Linked DNA regions of Homo sapiens: region 2 is linked to region 1. Evidence: promoter capture Hi-C in human tissues and cell types (Jung and others, 2019). All regions are on one chromosome and are shown on one strand. Each heading gives the region's core, a stretch centred on a gene start or on the middle of the fragment in contact. The rest is flanking DNA. Distances are from core to core; before and after follow the strand shown.

The links. The method cuts DNA at HindIII sites, captures the fragments that hold promoters and counts their contacts. A contact is called where the count stands out against the background at its distance.
Region 2: a contact is called between a fragment that was not itself captured here and the fragment with the promoter of CREBBP in region 1, in 1 of the 25 tissues and cell types used here (small bowel).

What each region holds. Positions count from the first base shown.
Region 1 is chr16:3,878,460-3,884,080 of GRCh38, reverse strand. It overlaps CREBBP (CREB binding lysine acetyltransferase), which reads left to right and starts at 3,368. Exons shown (of 31, transcript NM_004380.3): 1 at 3,368-4,249. The coding sequence starts at 4,165. RefSeq lists silencers at 2,893-3,442, 3,463-3,512, 3,850-4,159, 4,200-4,249, 4,330-4,379 and an enhancer at 3,113-3,689. The HindIII fragment of the contact is 21,091 bases long and covers 1-5,621 here.
Region 2 is chr16:4,144,480-4,150,100 of GRCh38, reverse strand. No RefSeq gene overlaps it. Among named protein-coding and RNA genes, the nearest start is that of ADCY9, 31 kb to the right of the region's middle. RefSeq lists an enhancer at 2,416-2,947. The HindIII fragment of the contact is 3,902 bases long and covers 687-4,588 here.

The DNA.
Region 1 (5,621 bases), core at 2,119-4,618:
CAACCTCCTGAGCTCCAGTGATCCTATTGCCTTGGTCTCCCAGGCAGCTGGGACTACAGGTGCATGCCACCACGCCCAGTTCACTTTTTAACATTTTGTTGTAGAGATGAGGGTCTCACTGTTGCCCAGGCTGGTCTCAAACTCCTGGGCTCTAGAGATCCTTCCACCTCGGCCTCCTAAAGTGCCGGGATTACAGGCATGAGCCATCATGCCCAGTCCTTTGATTGTTTTTTAATGTGGTATCTGAGACTGGAGAGGGTGAGGTTTGTGGAAAGAGCAGGAAGCCTTAGGTGTGCACCGGAGTGAAGCCCCTTCGTGGCTGGGTGGCTTGTCCTCCTTTGTGCCTTATTTCTTCATCTGTGAAATGAGGACAATTTTTCCTTCCAGGATTGTAGGAAGTGCTATCCATGGGAGGCATGGCAGAGCGGCCTGGTATCCCTAAGGCACTCACTTGTTGAAGGTGATCCCCAGCTAAGTGAGTGCAGGCAGGAGCCACGCTTCCCTCCTTGCTATTCCCCCATCAGTGTCTGAGCTCAGGGTTCTTTGAGTCAGACTGAAGGGAGAAGAAATCGAAAGGAAAGAAAAAACAGGTATCAGTGAATACCAGAATTGATCAAAATGATACAGGTGAGAACAATGAGACAGAAAAAGGGACTGCAGAGCCGGTATATTTTGAGGGTGGAACATGGTGAGACAGGAAGACTAGGGTCTTTGGAGAGTGAGGACATGGGTTCCAGGCCCAGACTTGCCATGTCCGGGTTATTTACTTCTGAGTCCTTGCGACTGAGTTCCCTTGCTTTCCTCTGTAAAATGGAAACCTGTCAGGGAATGGCTCAAGCTCCTGTGCCCACTTCTGTGTAAACCACTCACCAATGGACCCCTGGGGGGCTGCATGGTGTCTCCACTGCCCCAAGGCAGGCCCTAAGACCTCTAGGTGGCTGGACACCTTGTCCCGTTTGAAGAGTGGCCTGGAGCCACCTCAGGCTGGGGCCCACCCTTTTCAGTGGCCTGAAGGCCTCTAGGACTCAGAGCACCTGACACAGCTCATCACTCATTCAGTTTTACAAACCTACTTCTTCTTGCAGAGCACTGTTTCTGTGACTAAGACACCATCTTTGCCCCGAAGGAGCTCACAGACCCTTGGTGAGACGGACACCCAGAGCATTCAGATACAGGGTGTGGCCTGCCCTGTGCCACTGATACACTTCTTGCCATTCCTGTGCAAACTGACTTCTTGAATACTTCCATTTATGGCTTCCAGGGTGTGCTATTTTAACTCCTTGAATATATGGGGATCTCTTTATGTTTGGCCAAGGGGATTAGCACAGTCTCAATGCCCTTGGGATTCTCAAGAGCTATTTGATGCATAAGTAAAAACATGAACTAATTCGGGGGCAGTGGAGGCGGGGAAGATGGGGCAGGATGTGTTATGTGTTCTCTCACAGAGCCCAGAAGTGATATGGGAGCCGAGGAGTGGGCTAGGAGGGCTTCCTGGAGTAGGTGACATTTGAACTGGGTTCTGGAGGATGAGTTAGAATTTGCCAGGCATGTCTTCTCAGCACAGGGACCAGCATTTGAAAAAAAAAAAAAAAAAGCCTGAATGATGTGAACTGCCTACTGGCCAAGTGGGTGTAGGATGATGATGGTGAAGTGAGCCATGTAAAGTAGAAGAGACAGATTCAAGAGCGGTATCACGGCCCAAGATTTTGAGCAGTACAGGTAAACAGAGAAAAGCAGAACGATCACTCAATCTTGACACTCAAGGACAGTCACCATATGTACATACACCTATGTTTTTAAGAGAATTCATACGTGTTCTTTTTTAAAGAAAGACTATGTAGTGTTTTCTTTTTCTATGTCTGGGATTTTGTTTTGTTTTGTTTTGTTTTTGAGACGGAGTTTCACTCTTGTCGCCCAGGATGGAGTGCAATGGCGAGATCCCGGCTTACTGGCCTCCCCAGTTCAAGTGATTCTCGCATCTCAGCCTCCCGAGTAGCTGGGATTACAGGCGCACGCCGCCACGCCCAGCTAATGTTTGTATTTTTGGTAGAGATGGGGTTTCACCATGTTGGCCAGGCTGGTCTTGAACTCCTGACCTCAGGTGATCTGCCACCGCGCCTGGCCAGGGAGTTGTTTTAAACAGATTTTCTCCCTCTCTTTTCGGGATGTTAACTCTGGTGCTGCGTGGGGAGCAACGTGGAGAGCAAAGAACACTTAAGTGAGTAGCTGCCACCATAGCCACCGGGACAGTGCGGGAGGAGCAGTCTCCCAGGTAAAGACCGTGGGTAGAGGGGCGCGTGGCGGGTGAGAGGGAGGAGTCCGCGCTGACTCACGGGTTTCTGGCTTAGGAAACAGTGGAGCTGCTGATACCTTTATGAGGAAGCCGGGCAAGTTTGGAGGGGCAGATAACTAACTGGGATGGGAACACCTCGGGTATTCGTAGAAGTGTCCCGCGGGCTGTGGTCTCGCGTGGGGGACTCCCCAGGCCCGCACCCCTGTCTGGGGCACCTGCGAGGCGCCAGGCAAGTTGCCTGGGGCGGGGAGTGCGGCCTGAGCGTCCAGGCTTAAGCCCCGATGCGCGGGCCCTTCTCCGCCCAGGCCGGCCCTCGCCACCCCGCTCTCACAGGTGAGGGTGTCTGCCCTGCCGCCTTGGGATGCGAACAGGCGTGAGGCCCCCTCACTCCCTAGTGTCACGAGGTAGGGCGGGACCCGAATCCCGGCCCTGCCACTTCCTGCCTCGACCACTTTGGAGCAGTTGCTCGCCCCCCGCCTCAGTTTCCCCATCCGCCCACCTCGTCGGCAGGACCCAAGGGCGGTCTGTAACCTGCAGAGGCCATTCCACTTCCCTGGCCGGCGGCGAAGGCTAGTGGCGCGGCCTGGGCTGGGGTCGCCCCGACCGTTCCCGACCGACGCCACCTAGGAGGGTCTGGGGAAGGGGACGCGAGGAGCTGGGAACACGCAGCGCCGCCCCAGCGGGACGGGCGGGCCCGGGCTGGCGTCGAATCCGCGCCCGAGAGCCCAGCCCGCGGCCAGGCCGCCGCTCCCGGAGCCCGCTGGGGCCCGGAGCCCCGGCCCTCTACGCCTGGTCGCCATCAGAACAAAAGCTGTGGCTCAGCCCGGAGCCCAGGCGCCCCGCAGGCCTGGCCCGCGCCGGGCCGCCAGCTTCCCTACGCTTGGCGGCCGCGCCTTCAGCCCTTCGGCCCGAGCACGCTCGGCTCTTTCCGCCACGGCCGGCGCAGGTGGAGGGGGCGGGGCGGGGGCCGTGCGTGGTGACGCCGCGGGGGGGTGACGCACCGGCGTGCCCCGCCCCCACCCCCTCCCCGTTCAGGCTCTGGAAAGAGAAGAAAAAAAACTTTCTTTTTTTTTTAATTGAGGAATCAACAGCCGCCATCTTGTCGCGGACCCGACCGGGGCTTCGAGCGCGATCTACTCGGCCCCGCCGGTCCCGGGCCCCACAACCGCCCGCGCACCCCGCTCCGCCCGGCCGGCCCGCTCCGCCCGGCCCTCGGCGCCCGCCCCGGCGGCCCCGCTCGCCTCTCGGCTCGGCCTCCCGGAGCCCGGCGGCGGCGGCGGCGGCAGCGGCGGCGGCGGCGGCGGAACGGGGGGTGGGGGGGCCGCGGCGGCGGCGGCGACCCCGCTCGGCGCATTGTTTTTCCTCACGGCGGCGGCGGCGGCGGGCCGCGGGCCGGGAGCGGAGCCCGGAGCCCCCTCGTCGTCGGGCCGCGAGCGAATTCATTAAGTGGGGCGCGGGGGGGGAGCGAGGCGGCGGCGGCGGCGGCACCATGTTCTCGGGGACTGCCTGAGCCGCCCGGCCGGGCGCCGTCGCTGCCAGCCGGGCCCGGGGGGGCGGCCGGGCCGCCGGGGCGCCCCCACCGCGGAGTGTCGCGCTCGGGAGGCGGGCAGGGGATGAGGGGGCCGCGGCCGGCGGCGGCGGCGGCGGCCGGGGGCGGGCGGTGAGCGCTGCGGGGCGCTGTTGCTGTGGCTGAGATTTGGCCGCCGCCTCCCCCACCCGGCCTGCGCCCTCCCTCTCCCTCGGCGCCCGCCCGCCCGCTCGCGGCCCGCGCTCGCTCCTCTCCCTCGCAGCCGGCAGGGCCCCCGACCCCCGTCCGGGCCCTCGCCGGCCCGGCCGCCCGTGCCCGGGGCTGTTTTCGCGAGCAGGTGAAAATGGCTGAGAACTTGCTGGACGGACCGCCCAACCCCAAAAGAGCCAAACTCAGCTCGCCCGGTTTCTCGGCGAATGACAGCACAGGTGAGGAGGGGGTCCGGGGCGGCGGGGGCCCGGGGCGCGCTGTCACCCCCACCTGAAAGAGAGCGTCCGGGGGTCGTGGTCGCGGATACCGATCGAGCCGGGAGCTCGGAGCAGGCCCCGCAGCCCGTTCCCCTCGCCCCGCGCGGGAGGGTGGAAGTTCGTCGCAGGACTGTCACTGGGCCCGAGTTGGTCAGCACACGCCCGGTGCACTCGGCCTCCCCGCACCCGATCAGCCCTCCTCGCGGGGACCCTAGTGGCACTCCAGGAGGGAAGAAGTAAAGTGCAGCGTGTGGGTTTGTTTGGTAATGTCCTACGCATCCATCCGCGGCCGTGTCCACACGCGTGGCCGTCCAGAGGAATGACAGCGGAGGGTACCTTTGATGCTTAGAGAAAGCAAGATCGCGGCCAAAGGTAGGGCAGTGTGTTTTCTGGATTGGCGACACATTGACCAGGCTGCATTCAGAGGACACTCACAGCAGCCGCCAGCTTGCGAGTTAGAACCGAAGTTTCTTGGAATGAGTGAGTTCCTTGGAAAGATGCTTAGTGCTTATTTTCAAAACTCCTTGTTTTGTGTGTGTGTGTGTGTGTGTGTGTGTGCGCGCGTGTGTGTTTTTAGTCAACTAGTCATTCCATTTTTCAAAACCCAAACTTCGTTAGCAAGATGTCATGAAAGTTGCTGTGGTGTGTTTCATTTCCATGTATAACTTCAAAAGAAAGTTAAACAGCAGGTTTAAGTTCATTTGGGCTGCAATCTCCATTTGAGTTTGTGTTGCTTTCACAGTGTAGATGTACAAAGAATTAAGGAATGTAGGAATTCCAATTTTTCAAAAAAATGGAGCAGGATACTGAATAAATCATCTTTTTGTTTGTTTCCTTTCATTAAACGGCTTCCCTGGAAACTTTCTTAAGTTATCATAGCTGCTTAAGAGAAGTATTTAGTTTTCTATTAATTCAGTAATTCTGGGTCCCACTGCGCTGGTTCATGGTAACATGAACTAGTTGTATTTCCTCTTTTAGAGCTCTCTCCTTTGCCGCAAAAACTTGTGTGCCGCTGCGAACAATTCCATCTCCAGCGCAGCTTGCATTTCTCCAGTAGTCTTGCAGTGGTAGCATCTGAAAATCAGTTTCTAATGAATGAGTCCAAATTGAATTACATCGCTGCCTTCAGATTTGCACTAGACACAGCTGTTCAACTTGTGGAAATAGTTCTGTGACCGACCACTAGCATATTAAAAAAAACTGCTATTGCTGTTGAAACAAAACCTGAATTTTGTGGCTTAAGTTTGAATACAATTCCTGGAATCAAGTTATGATAAGCGACGTTTAATATTAATGTAGAAGTGAAAAGCGATTTTTAAAGATCAATCATAAG
Region 2 (5,621 bases), core at 1,388-3,887, 270 kb before region 1:
CCAGGAGGTTGAGGCTGCAGTGAGCAGTGATTGTACCATCTCACTCCAGCCTGGGCAACAGAAAGAGACCCGGTCTCAAAAAAAAAAAAAAAAAAAAAAAAAAAAAAGGAAACCATTAGACAGTATTCCAAAGCAGTTTTTTTTTGTTTTGTTTTTGAGACGGAGTCTCGCTCTGTCGCCAGGCTGGAGTGCAGTGGCACCATCTTGGCTCACTGCAAGCTCCGCCTCCCGGGTTCAAGCAATTCTCCTGCCTCAGCCTCCCGAGTAGGTGGGACTACAGGCGCACACTGCCAAGCCTGGCTAATTTTTGGTTGCCAGGATGGTCTTATCTCCTGACCTCATGATCCGCCCGCCTTGGCCTCCCAGAGTGCTGGGATTACAGGCGTCAGCCACCGTGCTTGGCCCAAAGCGGTTTTGTTATTTTACACTCCCATCAACAACATACGACGGTTCTAGTTACTCCATATTTTTGCCAACATTTGGTGTTGTCAGTCTGCTTAATTGTAGCCATTCTGGTGACTGTACTCAAAATTTAAAATTTTGATGAATTTGTTTATTAATTTTTTATGGAATGCTTTTTGTGTTTTGCCTTAGAAATATTTGCCCATCTCAAAGTCATGAAGTTATTTTCCTATGTTTTAGATGCTTTATGAATTTAATTTTTTATTTAGGTCTTGGATCTATTTCAATTTAATTTTTTGGTGTGATGTAAGAAGTTGAGGGGCCGGGTGCGGTGGCTCACGCCTGTAATCCCAGCACTTTGGGAGGCCAAGGCGGGCAGATCACGAGGTCAGGAGATCGAGACCATCCTGGCCAACACGGTGAAACCCTGTCTCTACTAAAAAAAAAAAAATACAAAAAATTAGCCAGGCGTGGTGGCGGGTGCCTGTAGTCCCAGCTACTAGGGAGGCTTAGGCAGGAGAATGGCGTGAACCTGGGAGGTGGAGCTTGCAGTGAACCGAGATGGCACCACTGCACTCCAGCCTGGGCGACAGAGTGAGACTCTGTCTTAAAAAAAAAAAAAAAGGAGTTGAGGTTCATTTGTTTTCCTTACAAATAGGCAATTTGTTTTTCCTTACAAATAGACAATTATTCTAGCCCATTTGTTGAAAGGTTTTTCTTTCTCCATTGAATTACCTTGGTACATTTGTTGGGAATCAGTTGGCCATATTTATGTAGGTCTATTTTTGGACTCTGTTTTCTGCTCCATTGATTCTATTTTGTGTATCCTAACGCCACTACCAAATGGTCTTAGCTACTGCTGTTTATAGCAGTTCTTAAAATCAGCCAGTGTAAGTCCTCTGAATTTTTTCCTTATTAGGATTATTTTGGCTATTCTAGGTCCTTCTCATTTCCACTTACATTTTAGAATCTGCTTGCCAATTTCTAAAAAAAGCTTTCTGGTTTTTTTTAATTTTTTTTTTTTTTTTTTTTGAGAGAGGGTCTTTTTCTGTCACCCAGGCTGGAGTGCAGTGGCATGATCATAGTCACTGTAGCTTCACCCTCCTGGGCTCAAGCAGTCCTCCCACCTCAGTCTCCTGAGTAGCTGGGACTACAGACACATTCCACCATGACTGGCTAACACTTCTATTTTTTTGTAGAGATGAGGTTTTGTCATGTTGCCTAGGCTGGTCTCAAACTCCTGAGCTCAAGTGATCCTTCTGCTTTGGCCATGCCAGTCTGCATTCTGGAATTTTACTTGGGATTACATTGAGTCTATAGATTAATTTGAGACAATTGACATTTTAACAATATTGAATTTTCTAATCCATGAACATGGTACATTTCTTCATTTATTTAGATTTTCTGTAATTTCTTTCAATAATGTGTTACAGCTTTCAGTGGAAAAGATTTGCATATCTTTTGTTAAATTTATTCCCAAATAGCATTTTTTATTTTAATGAAGGAACCTGGAAGCCCCAGAAAGGTGAAGGTGAAATGGTTGATGGGCAATTATGGGGCTGATGTTTGGGGTTGGAGCTCGATTCAGCACCCAAAATGATCACCGTCAAGAAGCAGCTGGTCACATGGGGTGATTCTCACTTTGTCCTCTCCAACTGGTTATTGCAATCAAGCCAATTTGCTGTCTGGGGGACATGACAGCTAGTAAGGCTGTGTTCCATTGCAGTGAACACCTTGGTCCTCCCTTCTCGACCCTGGGTGTCCCACACAGATCAGCCACAGGCTGCCTGTGCTTACGGTCCCCTCCTGAGAGAAGCTGCAGTGTCTCCAGCTTCTGATGCACAGTGTGAGGCTTCCCCCTGAGCAACAGTGGCCAGTGGCCTTGGTGAGGCCCAGGCTTGGACAGCCCTGCCCTACGGGACTAGAAAATGTAGTACCAACCACGGATTTGGTAGGACAGGAGAAGCCAAGAAATGGATGAGAAGAGGCAGAGAAGGAAGCTGAGTGGCTTTAATGGCAGAGCACTGTGGAAGGGGCCCATGAATGGCAGTTGCCTGAGGGTCTACCAGACAGGCTGCTGTCGGAGCAGCCTTGGGTTTCCAGTGGACTTCCACTTCCGGTGCCTGGGGGGCCTCGCTCTCCTGGGACTCTTGCTTTCCCCAGAAGGCTTAGGTGTTTTGACTTTCCCAAGGCTCCTTTGAGGGCTGGCGCCGTGGCTAAGCTTCCTCTCTTCCTTATTCCACAAGCCTCCCCACCGTAATGCCTACCCACTGTGAGAACTGACTCGGAATCGCTGCCGCTGGTATCCAGGGGTGCCACCCTCACACAACTGTGACTGCCCTTGGAGCTCTTGTGCTCCCTCAGTTGGAAGCCTTTTGTTTTCTCTAGGTTACTAGGCTACGTCAATGTGTGGGTGCATACACAAAAATAATTGGGACACCATACTTTGTCTTTGCAGTTTTGTCTCACATAGGCAGAGGTCTTACTGATAATTTGGAGGGGCCAATCAGAGGCATCCTGGATAGCGGGGAGTCTGAAAGGCAGGCCAGGCCCGGCATGGCAGCTCACACCCGTCATCCCAGCACTTCAGGAGGCTGAGGTGGGAGGATCTTTGAGCCCAGGAGTTTGAGACGAGCCTGGGCAACATAGGGAGACCCCATCTCTATAACAATTTTAAGAATTAGCTGGGGCTGGGTGTGGTGGCTCATGCCTGTAATCCCAGCTGAGGGACTTTGGGAGGCTGAGGCAAATGGATAATCTGAGCTAAGGAGTTCGAGACCAGCCTGGCCAACAAAGTGAAACCCCATCTCTACTAAAAATACAAAAATTAGCCAAGTGTGGTGGCGCGTGCCTGTAACCCCAGCTACTCAGGAGGCTGAGGCAGGAGAATCACTTGAACCCAGGAGGCGGAGGTTGCAGTGAGCAGAGATTGCACCACTGCCCTCCAGCCTGGGTGACAGGAGCGAAACTCCACCCACACCCCCACCAAAAAAAAATTAGCTGGATGTGATGGTGCACACCAGTGGTCCCAGCTACTTAGGAGGCTGAGGCAGGAGAATATCTCCTTGAGCCCAGTAGGTTGAGACTGCAGTGAGCCACATTCATGCTACTGCACTTCAGCCTGGGTGACAGAGTGAGACCCTGATTCAAAAAAAAAAAAAAGAGAGAAAGGCTGCAAGGAAGACCTGGGAAAGCTGGGGTTCGCAGGAGAGGTGCTTGGGGAGCTTTCAATACTGCCTTGAAGTAGGAGAATATTTGCTCCCAATGCCATATTGGGAGGGGAGGAGCTTTCAAGGAGCTGTACAGCCACGGGACAGGCTTCCTGGGACTCTGATTTCTGTATCCCTGGAATAAACAAGCAGATGCTACAGAGACGCCTGCATTGGGCAGGGTCATGAGCTCTTCAAGATCCATTTGACACTGTTTCTAACACTTTACCATGAGTCAATTCATGATCTCTCAAGAAAAGCTCTTCAGGGGAGGAACCCCCCAGAATTAATTTTTTGTTTTTGGAGGCAGAGTCTGTCTCTGTCACCCAGACGGAAGTGAATGCAGTGGTGGGGTCATGGTTCACTGCAGCCTCGACACCCTAGGCTCGAGAGATCCTCCCTCTTCAGCCTCCCTGAGTAGCTGGGACTGCAGGCCTGTGGTCTGGTTAATTATTATTTATTTATTTTTGAGACAGAGTCTCTCTGTTCCCCAGGCTGGAGTGCAGTTGCTAGATCTTGGCTCACTGCAACCTCTGCCTCCTGGGTTCAAGCAATTCTCCTGCCTCAGCCTCCCGAGTAGCTGGGATTACAAGTGCCTGCCACCATGCCTGACTAATTTTTGTGTTTTTAGTAGAGGCAGGGTTTCACCATGTTGGACAGGCTGGTCTCGAACTCCTGAGCTCAAGTGATTCTCCCACCTCAGCCTCCCAAAGTGTTGGGATTACAGGTGTGAGTCACCATGCCTGGTCTAGTTAAGTTTTAAAAAATTTGTATAGAAACAGAGTCTTGCTATGTTGCCCAGGCTGATGTTGAACTCCTGGCCTCGATACTCATACTTTGGCCTGCCAAAGTTCTGGGATTATAGGTGTCAGCCACCATGCTGCTGAAAGACATTTTGTGTTTGTTTGTTGGTTTTTTATACGGAGTCTCATTCTGTCACCCAGGCTTGAGTGCAGTGGCGTGATCTCGGCTCACTGTAACCTCTGCCTCCCAGGTTCAAGAGATTCTCCTTTCTCAGTCTCCTGAGCAGCTGGGACCACAGGCACATGCCACCACGTCTGGCTAATTTTTTTTGAGATGGAGTCTCGCTCTGTCACCCAGGCTGGAGTGCAGTGGCGTGATCTCAGCTCACTGCAAGCTCTGCCTCCCAGGTTCATGCCATTCTCCTGCCTCAGCCTCCCAAGTAGCTGGGACTACAGGCGCCCGCCACCACGCCTGGCTAATTTTTTGTATTTTTAGTAGAGATGGGGTTTCACCGTGTTAGCCAGGATGGTCTGGATCTCCTGACCTCGTGATCTGCCCGCCTTGGGCTCCTAAAGTGCTAGGATTACAGGTGTGAGCCACCGCGCCTGGCCCGCGCCTGGCTGATTTTTGTGTGTACATATATATATATATATATATATATATATATATATATATATATATATATATATATATATATTTAGAGATGGGGCCTCACTATGTTGCCCAAACTGGTCTTGAACTCCTGGGCTCAAGCAATTCTCCTGCCTTGGCCTCCTGAAGTGCTGGAATTACAAGCATGAGCCACTGCACCCGGCCAATTTCACTTTTAAGGGGTCCCATGCTACTATATGAGAGGCAGCCAACATACCTGGCCTACCTGGCCTTCCTCTTCACCTTTGAAAATGGCTTTCCACACTAGCCTGTAGACTACAGACTATTTCTCCAGGTGAACCTATTAATTGCAGAAGACAGATTCCAGAAATCTCAACAACAACAAAAAAATTAAAAGTGAAATTGGTTGTCTGACACCTTGGAGCAGAGACTCTGTCATTTACCTCTTTTTAGTTGGACTGGAGAGTACAGGCCCTGCCTACAGCAGAAGCTCATCAATGTTTTTTGATGATCCAGTAAGCATCTTTTAAAAATGACAGGATTCTGAGACAGGCTATAAGATGAATGAACTTGAGGACACTGTGGTAAGTGAAATAAGCGAGGCACAAAAGGACAATATTGTATAATTCCACTTACAGGAGGGACCTAGAATAG